Linked DNA regions of Homo sapiens: region 1 is linked to region 2. The links are contacts of gene promoters, found by promoter capture Hi-C in human tissues and cell types (Jung and others, 2019). All regions are on one chromosome and are shown on one strand. The core of a region is centred on a gene start or on the middle of the fragment in contact, and the rest is flanking DNA. Distances in the headings are between cores, read along the strand shown.

Region 1 (7,300 bases), core at 1,671-4,170, 63 kb before region 2:
AATCTCTGGTTAATTTAACAGAAAAGGAATTTATCACAGGAGGAAGCTGCTACCACTACTGTTATTGGAATCTGCTGCCACGTTTGCCACTAAGGGTTCTACACACTCTCGGCTTTTTAAATGCACTATCTTCTACATTAAGGTCCAGCACAGATGCTTCTCTTGTGGAGTGGAGGTCATATGACTGTACCCTTGCCTTATGGGAAGCAAGGAAAGCAAATATTCAGTAGTAGGCAGAGGTTTCTGCCTTCTTTCAAGATGCATATGGAAGGGAATTCCCCAAGGACAAGAAGGTGTTTTGATGCTAAGCAACCAAGAGAATGACTTGTGCATCATGATGCTTCCTTTGGATCCTCCCTAGGTTTGCTTTCCCTTTCATTCCTGTTTCTACTCAGTTGTCACCTCCTCAGAGAGGCCTTTTGTAATCACTTTCTCCAAAATGGCAATTCCCTATCCCTAATCTAGTACTCTGTTTCTTACTCTGCCTTACTTTTTCTTCATACCGTTTATCACTGCCACAACCACCACTACTACTACTACTTATTTACTTCTTTATTGTGAAGTTCTTATCCCAGAACATAAGCTCTTTGCTCTTCATTTACTCAGTAAACATTTGTTTGTTGAATGAAGAGAAACATAGAGATTATGCTATATATTGCTGAGGAAATTTAAGAGCTCATCTTAGAAAGTTTTGTTGGAGAAAAGATCTTTTAAAAATGGGCTTTGATTGAAGTATAGCATTTGGAGAGAAAGGATGTAACCATTCTAAACTGGGAAAATAGCATGAGGGGAGACATTGGGTCTGGAATAAGGTAAGTGTGTATGGGATGAGGAAGGAGAATTGGGTCTGGAATAAGGTAAGTGTGTATGAGATGAGGAAGGAGAATTGTTTAAAATCGGATGACTGTCAGGGCCCTATATTCAGAGAAAAATGGATGAAGTAAATGTGTGAGGCAGTTGATAGAGGGACTCAAATTGCAAGGTGAGATCTTGTGATTGCTAGAGTAAGAGATAACTAGTTTTTTTTTAATTAAAAGTATACAATGGTATTTTCACATAGCCGAGTACTATGCAGCTGTAAAACAGAATGAGAAAAATCTCTATGCAGTATTTTCCAGGATATATATTAAATGGGAAAAAAAGCAAAGTACAGAACAATGTGTGTTTAGTATGTTCCTTTGGTGTGAGAAGTAGGGAATGGTGGCTGGGCATGGTGACTCATGCCTGTAATCCCTGCACTTTGGGAGGCTGAGGTGGGAGGATTGCTTGAGCCCCGGAGTTTGAGACCAGCCTGGGCAACATGTCAAAACCTCGTCTCTCCAAAAATTAGAATTAGTCAGGTGTGGTGATGCGTGCCTGTAGTCCCAGCTACTTCGGAGGCTGAGGTGGGAGGATCACCTGAATCTGAGAGGTCGAGGCTGCAGTGAGCCATGATCACGCCACTGCATTCCAGCCTGGGTGACAGAATGAGACCCTGCCTTCAGGGAAAAAAAAAAAAAGTAAGAGTGGAAGGGTGGAGAATAAGAATATGAATATATGCAAATTTGTTTATGTTGCAAAGAGAAACACTTAAAAGACAAATTAGAAACTAATAAAATTGTTACCCTATGGTAGAAGGTATGGGAAATACATGAAGTAGGGATGGAAATGTGATTTCTGAGTGTGTCTTTTTATTATTTAGCTCTGACTTTTGAATTATGTAAATACACATTCAAAAATTATAGTAAATTTTTTTAAATCCTTAAAATTGAAGACAAACTTGAACAATGGTATCCATGTTTATATCAAAATAGTTATTTAAATACATGGAGAAAAACTATTTCAGGTGACTTTGGAGCTTAATACTAAATGGCATATACGCTAAGGATAAAAGAACTGCAAAAAAACCCCCACCTTTATTCATTTTATTGCTAGTTGTAATATTGGTATTTTAATTTTGACACCATATGATATGTATTGTAGGATAAAGGCAGTAAGTCTTTATGTGAATGATTACGAATCAATAGAGATACAAGTATAAAATCAAAGAAGCTAAGCACAAAACCTATAATTTTGAACCTGAATTATAAATGTCAATATGAATTCATCATTTATAATATACATTTCTTAATTCAATCCATATAAATTTGTTCCTTAGCTCTGTCCACTGAGAGGACCTAGAAACACTTTGTCATCTTGGTAGATGTGAGCTCTTCTAAAACCCTAATTTTGGTCTTTAAATACTTGTACTTGAAAGAATCCAGGACTCCTTGAAGAAATGACTGATTCTGGGTCTGGAGCAGGGGACATGCGTAACCTGGAACATTCTTGTGCCAAAACCAAGAAAGCTTTCAAAGATGGAAAAGCCAAATCGAAAAGGCTCTCCTTGGCCAAAATTGGGACAATTTGAACATCAGAAGAAATAAGGAGAATAATTTCTTGAGAAAATGATTATATAACAATAAATAGAACAAATGGAGGTGGCTAGGTGGCTATTATTCTTTACTCTGAAAATTGGTAATGAAAAACGATAATATATTTGAACTGCCTTTTGAGTGGGCACCATTTTATATTTAGTGAGGGATGCCAAGTAATGTAGAAGGAAATAAAGAATTTGAAAGTGACAATTTGTTACAACCTGTTATGAATAATTGATTTGGGCCAGGATCATTAATGGGTGCTAAAACTGTCAGACAAAAATGTTTGGGAATTGGATATTCCCATGGAGCCAAAGTATGATGCCACAGATTTCTAGTTGGCCTCAAGCTAAAAGAATATAACTTTACATTGGAAGGATTAGACTATCACTAACCTAGCTATTATTCTTAGTATCATTAAAAGTGATCCAAAAAAGATGTGCTTCCTGATGTGCTTCAATATCAAGCATGTTGCTATTGACATTTTTTGTCTAAAATATTAAATCCGAATTTTAATTAACTTCAGAGACTTAGTTTGTAAGACATATGGAAGATCAAGAAATTACATGCTATCTTGAGGAAGCAATAAAAAAAACTCAGTATGAGGTACAGATGAACCGACCATTCTTTTCAACAAATCAATGTCATGAGGGAGAAAAACGGGAGAGGTAGATGGGAGAAAGGGAAAGTGTCCTAGAATAAACTTGATTTAGAGATAGAGTAACCAAATACAACATGTGTAAGCTGTAAAGTACAATTTTTTTTTTTTTTAGAAAGGAATAGGATGAAGCAAGATGACCAGCTTTTAATTTAGAATGTCAATGATGGGTATATAGGTATGTGTATAATCAAACACACAAACACACATATACAGTATATATTATATATATGCATGTATATTTTCTATATTTGAAAATTTGTATAATGAAAATTTAATTTTTTCGTTTATAGACACTTAGGTTATTTGGAATTTCTTTTTTTTTTCCTGTTACAATAATGTTTTTATAAACATATTTCTTTCCTTGTTTATGTGTTTAAGAGTATACCAAGATAGGGTAGCTAGCAGTGGAATCCCTAGGTCAAAGAGTAGGCGCATCTTTTTTTTTTCTTTTGAGATGGAGTCTCGCTCTGTTGCCAGACTGGAGTATAATGCCACGATCTCGGCTCACTGCAACCTCCACCTCCCGGGTTCAAGCGATTCTCCTGCCTCAGCCTCCCAAGTAGCTGGGATTACAGGCATGCACCACCACGCCCAGCTAATTTTGTATTTTTAGTAGAGATGGGGTTTCTCCATGTTGGTCAGGCTAGTCTCAAACTCCTGACCTCAATCTGCCCACCTAGGCCTCCCAAAGTGCTGGGATTACAGGCATGAGCCACCACGCCCGGTCATCCCATCTTAAACTCTACTAGAAGTTGATAAATTGTTCTTCAGAATGATTGTATTGGTGGGGATTTTGGACAAGGGAATCATGAGACGTATGTCTTCCCTACCAGATGGTGAATTCTTTAAGGGCAGGTACTATGTAGAGGTTCAAATATAGAAATGTTTGATTGAATACAATTGTATTTTAGGGGGATTGCCTGGCAGCAGGATGGAGAAACTAGAGTTAAATCAGCTGAGAGACCATTGTGATGTGTAAGGTATGAGGCAATGAGTGTGTAAGACCAGAGGTAGTAGAGAGGAGGGGATGTGTATGAGAACTTCTGAGAAGAAAGGATCAGAATGTATGCATTCTTTTTTTGAGCAGAATATTGATGGTTCATTTTTGTGACTTACAAGAACCAGCAGTTTATTGGCTTCATTTTGTAGGAAGCAGGTAAGTTATACTTCCCTGATTAAATCAAAGGCATCTACTGGCTAATTCCAGTAGAGTTCTAAAAAGCCTTTTCTTTATCTTCTACTTGCACTCTTTTCAAGCCTCCATTTTTTTCCTGGGATACATTCATGTGATTTAAAAACAACTGGTAGTTGAATTGGGCAAAGGCATAGTCAGTGGCAAAGATGAGGAGGATTTAGTAAAATCCATGGGCCCCCTTCATTGTCAAATGAATTTGTGAAATCTTACAAGGATAAAGGCTGTCTCCTCGTATGGTTTTTAGAAGGAAAGCGTATTCAGCACCATAACAGGGGCAATTCATCATGTGCAGTTTTTCTTTCTTTCTTTTTTTTTTTTAAAGACGGGGGTCTTGCTCTTTTGCCTAGGCTGGCGTGTAGGAGTGTGATCATGGCTCAGTGCAGCCTTGACCTCCCAGGCTCAAGCAGTCCTCCCACCTCAGCGTCCTGAGTAGCTGGACCACAGGAGCATGCCACCAACCCTGGCTAATTTTTGTTTTTCATTTTTTTTTTTGAGACGGAGTCTCACTCTGTTGCCCAGGCTGGAGTGCAATGGCGCCGTCTCAGCTCACTGCAACCTCTGCCTTCCGGGTTCTAGCGATTCTCCTGCCTCAGCCTCCCCAGCAGCTGGGACTATAGGCGCATGCCACCATGCCCAGCTAATTGTTTTTTTATTGTTTAGTAGAGACGGGGTTTCACCATGTTGGCCAGGCTGGTCTCAAACTCCTGACCTCAGGTGATCCACCCACCTCAGCCTCCCAAAGTGCTGGGATTACAGGCGTGAGCCACCATACCTGGCTCTTGGCTAATTTTTAAAAATTTTTGGAGAGATTAGGGTTTCACCATGTTGTTCAGTCTGGTCTCAAACTCCTGGGCTTGAACGATCTTCCCACCTTGGCTTTCCAAAATGCTGGGATTATGGGCATGAACCACCATGTCTGGCCTAGATGAAGTTTTTCTAAAAGAATCCACTTGGCTAGGCATGGTGGCTCATGCCTTTTGGCACTTTGGGAGGCCGAGGTGGGTGGATCACCTGATGTCAGGGGTTCGAGACTAGCCTGGCCAACATGGTGAAACGCTGCCTCTACTAAAAATACAAAATTAGCTGGGCGTGGTGGTGGGCGCCTATATTCCCAGCTACTTGAGAGGCTGAGGCAGGAGAATCGCTTGAACCTGGGAGGCAGAGGTTGCAGTGAGCTGAGATCGTGCCATTGCACTCCAGCCTGGGCGACAGAGCCAGACTCTGTCTTAAAAAAAAAAAAACAAAAAAAACCCTTATATCTTATTTTAAAATGTTATGACTTCTTGCATATTCTGAAGTTAGTGGCTTCAAGAAGTTTGACCAGGCCGGGCGCAGTGGCTCACGCCTGTAATCCCAGCACTTTGGGAGGCCGAGGCAGGCAGATCACGAGGTTAGGAGATCGAGACCATCCTGGCTAACAGGGTGATACCCCATCTCTACTAAAAATACAAAAAATTAGCTGGGCGTGCTGGTGTGCACCTGTAATCCCAGCTACTCAGGAGGCTGAGGCAGGAGAATGGTGTGAACCCCGGAGGCGGAGCTTGCAGTGAGCCAAGATCGTGCCACTGCACTCCAGCTTGGGCGACAGAGCGAGACTCCATCTCAAGAAAAAAAAACAAAAAAAAAAGTTTGACCAGTGATTCTAGAACAGCTCTCTCCAGTAGAAATATAGTGAACCACAGATGATGATGATTTTTTTTTTTTGTCATTGATTGCTCCATTCTACATCAGCAGAAACAGAACCAGACAGGGAGTGACGAGATTTGCACCTGGGTCACACAGCTGATCTGTGGCAGAGGTGGGGTCTCAACTTCTGGCTTTTAGCCGTGCCTTTTTTTTTTTTTTTTTTGGCATAACATCATATTGCCTTAGTGCCCTCAAAATATTATTTGTCCAGTTTGTAGTTACTGACTATTGGAGGCCAAGTCTTGATCTAGGCCCACTTACCATGGGGTACACTTGTCCCTCTTCCTCATGGAAACAATTTCATCCTGACACTCTCAAAGCACATTTCATCCTGTACTGACTTCACCTTTTTTAAATCACAAAATTTACTTAGAAAGGACCTGACATTTAGAGTCAGAAAGGAACACACATTACTGAACACCTTCCTTGGGCATGGTATTTTCAGGGAGCTATGCATGTCTGGTGGGGCCAGCCCTCTAAAAAGTGGAGACAAGAAACAACCTACTCATAATCCCACAGTCTCCCCAAGGAGCCAGAGATTCTTGGGTCTAGCTAACCTCCTTTATTTTCTTAACAGCAAGTACTATAACCTTAACTTGTGCCCATAGAAAGAACTACAGAGGCCAGGCGGGGTGGCTCACACCTGTAATCCTAGCACTTTGGGAGGCCAAGGCGGGCGAATTGCCTGAGGTCAGGAGTTTGAGACCAGTCTAGCCAACATGGTGAAACCCCATCTCTACTAAAAATACAAAAAAATTAGCTGGGCGTGGTGGCATGCGCCTGTAATCCGAGCTACTTGGGAGGCTGAGGCAGGGGAATTGCTTGAACTCGGGAGGCGGAGGTTGCAGTGAGCCGAGATTGCCCCACTGCACTCCAGCCTGGGCGACAGAGTGAGACTCTGTCTCAAAAAAAAAAAAAAAAAAAAAAGCCACGGAGACATTGGGAGCATTCAGGGCATTGGATCACTGGAGGGGCTTCAAAGCCAGGGGAGCCCACCTTTGAGGCTGAATTTCTCACCTACTAGCTTTGGGACCTTGGTCAGGTGACTTTTCCAAACCTTGGTTTTCCCATCTGTAAAGTGAGTATAGGCAGTACAGCCCCTCTCTAGGACTGTGTGTAGGGAGATGGTGCTTGGTCACACAGCACTCAACGAATGCAGGTCGTTAACAGTGGGAGACAATAGTAACTCAGATTTATTGAGCACTTACTGTTGGCCTGGCGCTTGCCATCAATGAACTCATTAAAAAAAATTTTTTTTTTTTTTGAGATGAGGTCTTATTCTGTAGTCTAGACTGGAATGCAGTGGTGCAATCACAGCTCACTGCAGCCTTGACCTCGCTGGGCTCAGGTGATCCTCCCATC
Region 2 (6,667 bases), core at 3,350-5,849:
ATTTATTAAATAGTCCATCTTTTTCTTTCTGATCTGAGATGCTATCTTTATTATATGCTAAATTTCTGTACATGTTTAAATTTATTTGCTCCTTTTGTTTGTCTCTTTGTACACCAGTATCTACCTCATTGTTCTAATTATTCGAGCTTCAGGATACATTTTAATACTTCTGGGTAGGAACAGAACCTTCTCGTTACTCTTACAAAATTTTCTTCTTTATTCTGGTTTATTTTTCCTAAGAACTTTAAAAGTTGGCACTGAATTCCAAAATAGAACACCCAAAAACCTGTTGATTTTTCCACTGGGATTATGTTAAATTTTCGGGTTAACTTAGGGGAAAACCATTATTTCATGATGTTAAATCTTACTCCATGAGAGAGCATGGTACGTCTTTTCATCTGTACAGGTCTTTTTTTATATTGTTCAGTAGCAATTTAAAAAAATCATCCACTATGTTCAATGAAATAAAAGGCCAGATTTAAAAATTTGGCAAGGAGTTGAAAACTATAAAAAGGAACCAAATAAAAATTCTTTTTTTGCCCCCATAAGGCAGAAGAAATACAAATTCTACAACTGAAAAAATATAATATCTGATATTAAGAAATCAATAAATGGTTTATTATATTAGCTACATTTGAAGAGACAACTAAAAAAGAAAAATATTTTCAAACCAACTCAGAAACAAGAAGATGGAAAATAAAGAATACAATGCTATTTATATTTATATATAATAGTATATATAATACACAAGTTTAACATAGGACTGCATTTGCAGAATAGAAGAGAGATAATGGGGAGATAGCAACACTTGGAGAAAAAATAACGAACACTTTTTTATTTAAAGTGCCTAACTTGGCTGGGTGTGGTGGCTGACACCTGTAATCCCAACACTTTGGGAGGCTGAGATGGGTGGATCATTTGAGCCCAGGAGTTCAAGACCAACTTGGGTAACATGGCGAAACCCCATCTCTACAGAAAAACTCCAAGAAATAAAAAACAATAATCATCTGAGTGTGGTAGCACATGCCTGTCGTCCTTGCTACTCAGGAGGTGGGGGTGGCAGAATTACCAGGGCCTGGAAGTCAAGGCTGCAATGAGCTGTGATCGCATCACTATACTTCAGCCTGGTTGACGAGTGAGACCCTGTCTCAACAAATAAAAATAAAAATAAAAATAAAAATGCCTAACTTGGTGCTTGGCACTTTCTAAAATTGACACATAATATTTGTACCTGTTTATGGAGTATATGTGATATTTTGATACATGCATACAATGTGTGTAATGATCAAATCAGGATATTTAAGATATCCATCATCTCAAACATTTTTCTTTGTGTTCAGAACATTCCAAATCTAGCTATTTTGAAATATACAATAAATTATTAACTATAGTCATCCTAATGTGCTATTGAATATTATTGAATTCCATCTAATTATATGTTTGTACCAATTAACCAATCTCTACTTATTCCTCACCCCCAGCTCCCACCAACCCTTTCCAGTCTCTGGTAACTATCATTTTATTCTCTACCTCCATGAGATCAAATTTTTTACCTCCCATATCGTTGTCAATATTATTATTTTTCCCACCCTGGCTCCTAATGAAGGATTTATTGACAATATCACTGGAATCTAAATCCTCTAGGCCATTTTTTCACCAATGCCCTTATTTTCTTAGGGCTTTTTTTTTTCTTAAATCAACAGTTTTATTGAGATATAATTCCCATTCTATAAAATTTCCTCGTTTGAAGTGTACAGTTTAATAGCTTTTAGTATATCCACAGAAGTGTGCAACCATCACCATAATAAATTTTAAAACATTTTCAGCAGGGCGCAGTGGCTCACGCCTGTAATCCCAGCTACTCAGGAGGCTGAGGCAGGAGAATTGCTTGAACCCAGGAGGCAGAGGTTTCAGTGAGCCGAGATTGCACCACTGCAATCCAGCCTGGGCCACAGAGTGAGACTCCATCTCAAAACAAAACAAAACAAAGCAAAATAAAACGAAGCAAAATAAAACAAAACCAAAACCCAACAATTTTGAACATTTTCATCTTACCACCCTGCCAAAAATCCCTGTTCTCCTTAGCCATCAATCTTCAGCTCCCTACCCACTTCTAACCATGAATCTATTTTGTAGATTTGTCTATTCTCGATATTTCATATGAATGAAATAATATAATATATGGTTCCTTGTGACTAGTTTCTTTCACTTAGTATGTTTCCAAGTTCATCCATGTTTTGGTATGTATCAGTACTTCATTCCTTTTTATCATGGAATAATATTCTGTTGTATTGATATACTACGTTTCATTCATTCATCTGAACATTTGGATTATTTCCATTTTTGTCTATTATAATAATTCTGCTATGAACACCCATGTATACGTTTTTGTGTGGACATGATTTCATTTTCCTTGGATATACACCTAGCAGTAGAATTGTTGAGTCATAAAGAACTCTAGGTTTAGCTTTCTGGGGAGCTTCCAGATTATTTTCCAAAATGGCTGTGCCATTTTACATTCCCACCAGTAAAGTATGAGGGTTCTAATTTTTCCCTGTCTTCACCAATACTTGTTGTTATCTATCTTTTTTATTATAGTCATCATAGTCTGTATGAAGTGATTTCTCACTGTAGTTTTTTCAGTAGTAATTAAAAAATTTCCTACCTATTTTAGCCTAAAATTACTTTCCTGACTCTCTTCAAGGAGCCTGCCAGAGAATTCTCTCTCTCGTGCTGTCTCCCTTATGCCTGGGCATAAGCTCTGATAATGCCCTGTCTGGGAAAACTCTTTTGGCCTTCTCAATTTCTATTACATTGAGAGCCCAAGAACCCATGGTCAGTAACAGGCCAATGAGAAGCCTCCTGCATTAGTCTAGGTGAAGGATAATGGTGGCTTGGACCGGAATAGGGTGGTAGTCATGGAAATGGGGAGAATTTGACAGACTAGATTTATTTTGGAAATAGAACTGAATCTGAACAGATTGAATTGGGCAGGGAGCAGGGAAAGTGAAGGGGAAGGAAGACACCAGGTTTATGCCTTCAGCATTTGGGTGGATGAATGGATGGATGAAAGGATAGATGGATGCATGGATGGTGGTTGGATGGATGAGTGGTTGGATGAATGGACGGTCAAGGGGTGAATAGATGGGTGGATGGAAAATGGAGAGATGATGAACTGAGATGGGGAAGACTAGAAGTGGGGCATATTTTTGGGGAAAGACAGTTTTGCAATACGTTAAGTTTGAGGTGCCTCAGAGTCATAAGAGAGGATTTGTCAGAAAGGCAGTTGGATATAAGATTTTGAAGCTCAAAAGACAGGGAGGGCCTGATGGTATGTTTAAACCTATACGGATATCACATAGGTAACATTTCAAGCCTAAGAAATGGGCCGGGCGCAGTGGCTCACACCTGTAATCCCAGCACTTTGGGAGGCTGAGGCGGGTGGATCACTTGAGGTCAGGAGTTCGAGACAAACCCAGCCAACATGGTGAAACCCCATCTCTGCTAAAAACACAAAAATTAGTGGGGCATGGTGGCACATACCTGTAGGCCCAGCTACTCAGGAGGTTGAGGTGGGAGAATTGCTTGAACCCGGGAGGCAGAGGTTGCAGTGAGCCAAGATTGTGCCACTGCACTCCAGCCTGGGCGACAGAGCAAGACTCCGTCTAAACAAAACAAAACAAAAAAAGCCTTAGAAATGGGCAATGCCACCAAAGCAGAAAGATGAAAGGAGGGCAATGCCCTGAGGTGTGCCAGCATTGGAGGAAACAAACAGCCAGAGATGTAGGAGGAAAGCCCAGAGAAACTGTGAGCTGCAAGGATGAAGTAGTAACAAATAAAATGCCACCAAGAGAACCAGAAGGACGACTGGAAACAAATAAACAAGAAAGACTATTGCATTTAGCAACGTGAAAACGTTGGATTACTTTTTACTCAGAAATCAAACCCCAAGGATAGTGTTTCCCCTCCCTACAGGGGTTTCTGCAGGTCCCTTTACACGCCCCCCTTCTACTTCTTTAAGTGCTAAAAGTGATTAATTTGGGGTGATGTTTTAATTTCTATTCTTTTTGGCTTATAACTGTGTTTTTTCATTCTTTGCAACAACAGATAGTATGTTGTAATAGAAAAATCCATTGTGGTCAATGATAACTTCTGCCTGTTCCTGGGCACAGGGGGCATCACTATTAGTGCCTGTTCCTCCCTCCCTACTGCTGATAAGGAAACAGGGGCAGGAATAATACTAATAATTTGTGCTACTTTTTCTGCATACCCTTGGCCTTATTCTGGTCTACTGAGCTGGGAGCTTGTCTGAGGCTGGAGCTCTATTGTCTGAATCCAGGGGCAGAAAGAACTGAGGGCTCTTTTACGGCATCCACCTGGAGGCTGCCTGCAGGCTTGGGTTGCTAAGTGCACTGCTTAATTTAGAAGCGCCTTTTATCCTGGCTCTCTTGACCAGTCAAAGTTGTGGTCGCTGTTTTCTACAAGGACTGGGGAAAGAAAGGGTGGAATTAATTAAACCTGGAGGAAGGGACTTTGAAGGGCGGAGCTAAGGTCAAAGAAAGAACCCTTTAAATAAAGGGCCCACACTGGCTGCCAGGGAGTGCGCAGGACTGGCAAGAGGGAAGCCGGGCTGCTCCACGCCTTTCACGCCTTCCACCTCCTGCGTGTCCATCTGTGAGAAGGAGCCAGAGCCCAAGGGAGATGATGGAGCCTGAGGAGTACAGAGAGAGAGGTGAGCAACGGGCATCCCTGGCCCTCTTCCCTGCTGCTACTCCTGCAGGAACGGCTGCTGGTGGGTGGCCCTTAGATTCTGGGGTGACATTTGATGGGAGCATTAGAATTGCCTTCTGAGAGTTGGCACCAGCAACATTTTTTTTTCTGCGAAAGGAATGTGGGATCAGAGTGTAAAACTTTTCTCAACCACTCTTTCATTCTCCCTCTCATATACCCACTCTCACATATGTCCACACTACCGTGCCTTGCTTTTCCTCCCCACTTTCCCACAAAATTGAGGATTTGGATCCCTGAGCCACTAGATGGGAAAAGGGGATTGTTCATATTCTGAAATAGAAAAAAATTTTCTCAATATTCTGTAATCACTGCAAATCCTTTCTTTCTTAACATTCATTCCTTCATGTGTGAATCTATCAGCAGTGTTCTTTCATTTAGTCATTCATTTCATAAATATTTAGTAGGTGCCTACTCTGTATCAGGCAAAACCAAGTGGTTATCCAGTTCTCAGGCATGGATCTCCCTTAGCAGGAAAGTAGGTAGTTGCTTAAAAAAGAATCTTGAATGTCTATTTCTATAATGTTTTATATCCTCCTACTCACTAATTAGTGTGCGTTAGCTTATTCCATTGCTTTCCTAAGGCACTGTCAGCTGAGAGCAAGTTCCTGTGGATATTTATCTTCTGAGTGGAACACAAATACATTTAGCACTGTTCCTGGATCAGTGGAGGGTTAGGTCTAGAGCTCTCAGATCTCTGGTGGGGCCCTGCTGGAGAAGAACCAGGATGTGAGAGGGTTGAAGGGGAGCAGAAGGAAGATAGAATGGTGTGGAAATCTACCTTTGTCTCATAAGTTTTGTCTGGGGTTGGTTCTGTTCTTAAGAACTTTGCATAAGCTGATGCAGAGGGGAGAAACTGAGTCCCCTCTCCTAGGTAAAAGCAGCCCAGGGAGTACTAAGGAATGGATGTTGAGACAGACAAAGAGATATGTACACACACACACATGCACACACAGCAACAGAGGCACTGAAGACTGCAATCTGAAAGAATAAATAATTTGCAATAGTTTCAGAGTGTTCAACTTGACTTTTTTTTCCTTCCTTACTCATATGTTCATTCACTTGATACATTTTTTTTTAGCATCTAAAAAATATCCTAAGCACTGAGGTGTTGATGGAGGCAGCAGGAGGGAGAGAAAGTCATTAAGATTTGGTGCCACATTTCCCAGGCCAGGGCAGGGGGCTTGGTCTGGATCCATGGTTGTGCTTTAGGGATTCTGTGAGCCTCAGAAATTATACACAAAGTTCTGTGTATATGTAAGCCTACAGTTTTAATCAGATTCTTGAATTAAGTCCTCATATGAGTCCAAAAAAGATGAATAATAACTGATTCAATGGGGATGGTGAAAAAATAGATTTTTTTGTCCTTTATCGGAACTGGGCATGGAATCTTTCTATCTGTGCTAACAGATATAACTGGTGGGTGTGTGTGTAACAATTTTTGGATACAAAGAGCTATAGAGTTTCTATTGAACCTATAAAATAGTTAATAGATGTTCTGTTTCTGAGAAGGAAAGAAAGGTAGGAGAGACAATCAAAATTGAAGTGGATAAAGGAAGGGGAAAGAAAATGAAACGTTTCACTTTGGCGCTAGAGTTTTGTGCTTTGGAGATTTTCCTTTTTGTTCATTTGCTCACTTAGAAACTCCCTCCATCATTCATTCACTCCCTCACTCTTTTTTTAAATTCTGAAGATAAGGTCGTGCAGGGGATCAGATCCTACCCTCGGCCCATGAATCTGTCTCTCTCTTTTTTTTGAGTCCAGGCTGGAGTGCAGTGGCACGATCTCGGCTCACTGCAACCTCCGTCTCCCAGGTTCAAGCGATTCTCCTGCCTCAGCCTCCCAAGTAGCTGGGATTACATGCGCCTGCCACCACGCC

The links. The method cuts DNA at HindIII sites, captures the fragments that hold promoters and counts their contacts. A contact is called where the count stands out against the background at its distance.
Region 1: a fragment that was not itself captured here is called in contact with the fragment with the promoter of HDC in region 2 in 1 of the 25 tissues and cell types used here (IMR-90 fibroblasts).

Annotation. Positions count from the first base shown.
Region 1 is chr15:50,324,106-50,331,405 of GRCh38, reverse strand. The region is part of intron 1 of GABPB1 (GA binding protein transcription factor subunit beta 1); the gene reads left to right. Among named protein-coding and RNA genes, the nearest start is that of GABPB1-AS1, 26 kb to the left of the region's middle. The HindIII fragment of the contact is 6,963 bases long and covers 1-6,401 here.
Region 2 is chr15:50,263,658-50,270,324 of GRCh38, reverse strand. HDC (histidine decarboxylase) reads left to right here and starts at 4,599. Exons shown (of 12, transcript NM_002112.4): 1 at 4,599-4,732. The coding sequence starts at 4,702. The HindIII fragment of the contact is 21,543 bases long and covers 1-6,667 here.